2 separate regions of the Homo sapiens genome follow, and region 2 is linked to region 1. The links are contacts of gene promoters, found by promoter capture Hi-C in human tissues and cell types (Jung and others, 2019). All regions are on one chromosome and are shown on one strand. The core of a region is centred on a gene start or on the middle of the fragment in contact, and the rest is flanking DNA. Distances in the headings are between cores, read along the strand shown.

Region 1 (3,147 bases), core at 585-3,084:
GAAGGGAGCGCCGGCTGCTCCTTCCAGGAAGACAACTGTGGGTCAGTTGAAGGGGGTCACAGACGGCCGAATCCCGGAGGTCGTTTCTGTCCACACGGAAGTTTGAAAACCGACCATTAAGTCCGGAAGAAATTCGGCCTGGGGGGTCCTGGGACACCACTTCTTTCAAGTTTGGATACGTAGTAGTTCACCAGCTCTCTGCGTTAGACAGCTGTCCGCAGCCTCCTTACATCCCCAACCCGGCACCCCGGTCCCCGCCCGAGCCACTCACCAACAAGCCACCGGCTCAGCCGCCACCGGCTGGGCCGCGAATCCCCGGGGAGCCGCGCTGGGGTCAGCAAACTGAACGCGAGTGGGCGGCCCACGGGCCGCGCGGAGCCCCAGCTGCGTCCTTATCAGCGCCGGGCAGAAGGGCGTCGCGGCGCGAGGGTGGGGCGCCGGTGCGCGCTGAGATCGACGCCCACACGCGCCGCGCCAGCTCTGCGGCGGGGAGAGAAGCCGCGGCCTGCGGGGCGGGGACTGCGGGGCGGGCGCCCAGCGCGGGCGTTGCACGACCCTCGGCCTTCCGCAGCGCCGACCGCTCTCCCGTCCGGCGGCTGCAGCTGCTGGGTCGGCCGCCGCACCCGCTCGCCCATTCCCGGCCCCTCCAGTTGGAGGGGGTCTCGGCCCCGCCCCCCTCCCCGAGGGGCCCACGCTGGAAAGCCCACGCTCCCCACGCCACGCCCCCCAGGGCGCCAGCCCCTCTGCGGGGGTTTAGCACGCTGCGCCCAGAAGTTGGGTGGGAGACGGCTAACTAGGGGAGGTGTCCGTGTGAATGAAACGAAAGGGGGGGTCTTCCGGCTCGCAGACACCGGGTCTGCGGCGGCCGCGCGCTCCCAACCCACCCGGAGCCTCCGCCGCGACATCTTCCCACGTCCCCCATCCAGGTCGCAGGCGCGGGGGAAAAGCCTCACGGCCGCACTGCGGCTCTGCCAAAAGGGAGCCGGGTCGAGCCGCTGAGAAAAACAGAGGGGAGACTCCTGGCGTTTGAAACCGGTCAGAACCCGCTCTCCAAGAGCTGGGGACACCCCTTGTTTGGAGGCTGATCCCCAGCCCACCCGCTTCCTCCCCCTCCCCACACTCCTGCAGGCGCGGGGCGCAACTTGCAATCCGAACTTCGCGCGGCCGGAGCAAGTTTGTCGGGGCGAGAAGCGCCTGGTCCTCGGTCCGCACCACCGCACTAGGTCCCCGCCACCGCCCCACCACTGTGTCAGGGGCCAGGCGTGGCCCCCGGCTGGCTAGGGAACCGAGCGCGGCGCCGCGGCTGCGCATTCCGTGCGGGACGCCGCTGTCTCCCAAGGGTCGGGATAAACTAGGGGGCGGTTGATCTGAAAGTCTTAGCCACGACTAATAGTCAACCGCCCAGGTGCGACCCGCAGCAGCCTTGGCGATGCAGCTCGTTCTCCAGACGCGGGTCCACACCGGCGCGTCCTCGCCTCCAGGGACCGATCGCTGTTCTCCGTGGCCGGGTAAGGGCGGCCGCCAAAGTCACCGGGGTGGATGTGGAGGGAACTGGAACCTCCTCTCCAGCTTTCCCGGTGAGGCTCGGAGGAAGCCGAGACCCGGCACCCATCAGCCGCGCTTCTCGGCGCCTCAGCCTCGGGTCCCGGACAACACCCCAACCCTGACCCTCCCGAGCGGCGGGGCTCCAGCTCCCCGTGTCCCGCGCCGCGGTCGCCCCCGCCTCGGCCGCCCGACCCGCACTCACCCGCGGCCAGCGCGCCCCCGCTCCCGGCGCGCAGACCGCTGCAGCCTCCCGCCGTTGTGTCGGCGTAGCCGCCTCCTCCCGGTCACTGCAGGCCCAGCCAACCCTGAGCGCGAGGGGGCAGGGCGGGGCGGGGCGCAGCGGCAGCCTCAGGTAACAAAGCTGCGGCCTCGCTGCTCCTGGCCGGCCGGGAAGGGCAGCGCGCCCTTTCCTGCTCCGCCCCTCCCTCGCCTCCCCTTCCACCCTACGCGCGCCACCGTCACCGCCACGCGCTCACCTTCACCTGCGCGGGGCCCCGGGGGAGACGCCTCGGGGCACACTGCTTCCCGCACCCGAAGGCTGGTGCGGGGCTAGGCCGGGGGCCACCGAGAGAAGTAGGGGCGGCAGGAGACGGAGATAGCTGGGCTGCCCAGAAGAGCCAGGTGTCCTCGGGGAACGGGCGAGAGGAGGCGCCAAGCTGGCTTCTGAACCTGCAAGTGCCTTTCACAAAGGAGCCTTTGCGACAGCCTCCCAGGCACCCTCTCTTGTGCACACGGGCGCGCACACACTCTTATATACACGCGCGCACACACACACACACACCCGCACACGCCCCCCGACGCACGCGCCAGACCACCCTCTGCCCCAACACTTGCTTCTCCCTGGAGAGCTAGCAGCACTTGGGCGAACTGACCTGTCCCAACCCCTACAGCTGAAACCTGGCTGCGCTAGAGCTTCGCAAAGGTCAGCTCCTCCCTGGGGCCTGCCAAGCTGTAAATTTGTTACCGTTTTTTATTTTGTTTTTGTTTTTAATTCTCAATGATGATGGTAACAGAAACCTTTAGGTTGTATTAAAGCGTAAAAAGACCCCTCAAAAATTTTGCCAGGCCTCATCGAATGAACGCACGCTGTCTGGGAAAGGCACACTCCTCACAGAAAGAAACAGGGGAATCGATTTAATCACATTTTTTTTTTCTTCAAAGTGACTTGGGGCGCCAGTGAGAAGCAAGTAGTCAAAGAAAACATCCCGGGCAAACCGGCTGACCGAAAATCCACTGTCGGGGTAGGGAGGCGCCCTCTACGGGGATGAAGTCATCGCTACCTTTGACTCTTTGATCCTAGATAACCGACCAAGACGTTTCCAGCCTAATGCCTGACGCCTTTTGCTTCCTCCATCCTGGTCCTCAGTCCCTGAACTCCCAGGACAGAATTCCTGACCTCCTTGGTCAAGCCTTGGATCGAGAAAGAGAAACTATTAGTGTAAACAAACCAATCAACCCCAAAACCAAAACTGTGCCTGCCAATAGCCCATTTCTTGGCCATTGATGGTGCATGAAGAGAAATGGATCCAATTAAGAAAATCTTAAAATCTTAAGGAATAAGAAAATGTAATAAAGAGAAAGACAATGTCATGCTCAGGGAGC
Region 2 (3,430 bases), core at 377-2,876, 150 kb after region 1:
TTATTTTGATCCTAGAAGCAATGGAAAGCCATAAAAGCACTGGGGGAGGAAGAAGGAGAGTGATAATCCAATGTGTGTTTCAAAATAAATCACTGTGCCTTCAAGATGGGTAATGAATTAGAGAGGACAGATAAGAATGGAGGCTATTGTAAAAGTTTCAGGCAAGATGAAGTGGCAGTAGTGGAAACAGGAAGAAATAGAAAAATTCAAGAGTCATGTAGAAAGTAAGACTTTAAAAACTTGTTCAATCATTGGATCTATCAGGGAGAGGGAATTAAGGATCACTTCTAGTTTTCTGGATTTTACAATGAAAAGATAATTGTGTCATTCACTGAAAAAAGGAACAAAGAAAGAACCAACGTTGTGCAGTTTTGTAGGGAGGGAAGGGGAAATCAGTTTCATTTTAGACATACTGGATTTGAGATACCTTTAAGATATTCAAGAAAGGATGTCAACAAGACAGCAAGACATACAGATCTACAGCTCAAAGCAGACAGAAAACACTCATGCCCTTAATGAAGCTGACATCTTTATCCTAGAAAAGCAGCTAACTATAATCCCCAAATATCCAAGAAAAATGTTAGACTTAGACTTTGACCATCTGGATTTAGTTAAAACAAAAAGCTGAGAGAGAACATGGCAATAACATTTCATCAGCTAAAACAAAAACTGCTAGGCACCATGGGTAGCAGATTTTTAAACTCGTGGTTCAACAATATAGGAATTATGTATCACATCATATCATGTCGCATTTTAAAGTTTTATCAGGGCTGGCCAATGTTGTTGGAAATGTTCTAAATTTGCACTGTCCAATAAAGTAGCCACCAGCCACATATGATACTGACACTGAAATGTGGCTGGTACAATGAGGAACTGAATCTTTTATTGTATTTAATTTTAACTAACTTAAATAGCTACATGTGGCTAGCATCCCTGGCATTAGACAGTGCAGGTTTACAGCTTTCTCATATATTTCATCTGATTCCCCAATACCTACTTTTCAAATTAACTGGGAGAGAGGTGTGGTGGGTGGAGAGATTAGAGGAATAGAAAAAACATCCTTTCCATTTTCTGCTTATTACTTGAATCTTTATTTCAAGAATTTATAATACTTATGCTGGATGCAGTGGTTCATGCCTGTTATCCCAGCACTTTGGGAGGCCAAGGCGGGAAGATCGCTTGAGCCCAGGAGTTCAAGACCACCCTGGGCAATATATAGCACTGAAACAAAACAGATAAGGTCCTGGCCATTTTAGAGATTACAGATCACGGGCTTAAACCCAGGGGCTCTTTCCACTGAGGGTATAAATTCCTGATCCATCCCTTTTTAGGTATGTGACCCTGGACAAAGCACTTTACCTAAATCTCAATTTCTTTATTTCTAATGTGGTGATGTTATCTGCTCTACCTATTTGGTATGGCTGGAGTAAAAATAAAATGAGGATGTATGTGAAAGTGCTTTGTAAATTATTACATGCTAAACAAACAGAAGGTATTAAACAGAGTAACATATTCCTTTTCTCTAGGGCAAAGATTTCCAAACAGTGTGCCAAGAATGGATTACAGATGTGCTGAAATTGTGACCCATTCCCCCACTCCACAGCTTCCAAGGAACCAAGGAGGGCCTGGCTCTAGTCTGCCATACAATTATAATCATTTTTTATGTGTGCCATGATGAGTATCTCAGGCTAGCAGAAACTGGAGTTGGCGAACTGACTCCCTCCTCTGGAAGATTTAGGGCTTACCACTAACTCTGCTGCTTTTATGATCCTGTTCCAAAGGCAGTATGTCACTGTTCCCCAGGGACCAATGAGGCTCAAGCTTCAACATCAAGGAGCTGCTAGTCCAATGCTATCACAGATATACAAAAATAAAATATAAATTCTTATCTTAGGTGAGAACATGGTAAAGACACTGCCATATTTTCACAAAAGATTTGAGCAATTGCCTGTTTTGCAACTACCTTCAGATCCCCAAATCTTTGTCTTTCAAGAGAGGATCTGATTTTTTCCAAATACCCAAAGTTATTCAGATTCTGGTGACTGAGGTCACGAAGTGACGAAGCCAGGCAAGAACTTCATTTTTGTATGTCTCAATCTGAACCGACAGTCATACTAGAAGAAGATTTCAAAGCAGATTGCCTACTCTGAAAAACAGCATTCACTTAAATAAGTATGTTCATTAAGGGAAAAAAGTGTATTTCATAAAGAGACTTTATATTCCTTTTTCAGGAACAACTAAAGGTTTGAGCAACACCTGCCTATGCCCATCCTAAGACAAAGGCTTAGAAGGAATGGAGGAGAATGGAATGAGAGATGGGAGAAAGAGGAGAATAGGAATAAAGGAAAAAGAAAAAGAAAATAAATACTTTTGTCTCATAAAGAATATCTGTTAATCTGCAAGAGCCATTCGGCAGCTTCCATGACTGCCAAAAGCTACTAAAGATCAAGGAAAACAAAATTATTTTCAGGCCAATAGTCTTTTTCATACATCCAGAAGTAGTGCTACATATCTGACTTTTAGATTGTCATGATCCTAAGTCATCAACTTCCATATTAAGTGGAACAACTCACTTTCCATTCTGTACAAATATTTTAGTTTTTCATCCATAACCATATTAAAGTTTCCTGTTTAATTTACTCCTTCTTCCATTCTGAATTTATTCTTTCCATCCCAAATGTATTATTCTAAAATTTATTTATACTTCCAGACTCTTACAATGCCCAGTTTATTACTTATAATCTTCATTTTCACATTTTCCCCTCCTCATATACACACACACCATCTGCTTATTATTTGAATCTTCATTTCAAGAATTTATAATACTTACAATTCTTTATTTCAAGTAGGTGTGTGTGTTCTAACACACACACACACACACACCAGAGACTTATATCCATCCCCATAGGAAACCCCTACCAACTGCCTCCACCAAATTCACTTTTTTGTCAAACTTCTCAGTATGATATTCAACCAGATGTTCATCCACTGAAGATTAAGAAAGGAAACAACCTTTTCTCAACACCTGATAGAAAGTCAGGTGATATATCTCCAACTCATTTCAAAAAGGACATAATGGACGCATGGTAGAAGTTGTCTACAGTAGTAGTCTAGAGTCAGACAACGTAGGTGGAGCCATGCACTGGCTCCACCAGCGCAATTCTGAGCAGACTACTTTAGCTTCAGTTAATCATTCAGCTTTATTTTCTTCACCTACAGAAATGAGGACTTTAGCCACTTTATAAGGTTATCATTTGAGATAATAATGTAAAGCACTTAGCTTAATGCACATGGTAAGCAAATAAATGTAACTGTTACAGTGTTAGATATAAAATATCTTCCGAATTTGTCATTACCTTAAAAGGAAACTAATTTAGCATAAGCTAGTCTGTTGTTGATGTTGTTTTTGAGATGGAGTCTCACTCTGTTG

The links. Contacts are between HindIII fragments. The study calls those that stand out against the background at their distance.
Region 2: a fragment that was not itself captured here is called in contact with the fragment with the promoter of FHDC1 in region 1 in 1 of the 25 tissues and cell types used here (H1 embryonic stem cells).

Annotation. Positions count from the first base shown.
Region 1 is chr4:152,935,010-152,938,156 of GRCh38, reverse strand. It overlaps FHDC1 (FH2 domain containing 1), which reads right to left and starts at 1,834. Exons shown (of 12, transcript NM_001371116.1): 1 at 1,748-1,834. LOC729870 (a long non-coding RNA gene) reads left to right here and starts at 1,320. Exons shown (of 2, transcript NR_136614.1): 1 at 1,320-1,508; 2 at 2,707-3,147. RefSeq lists silencers at 197-456, 1,789-1,878. The HindIII fragment of the contact is 7,704 bases long and covers 1-3,147 here.
Region 2 is chr4:152,783,288-152,786,717 of GRCh38, reverse strand. The region is part of intron 1 of ARFIP1 (ARF interacting protein 1); the gene reads right to left. Among named protein-coding and RNA genes, the nearest start is that of ARFIP1, 5.0 kb to the right of the region's middle. The HindIII fragment of the contact is 6,067 bases long and covers 1-3,430 here.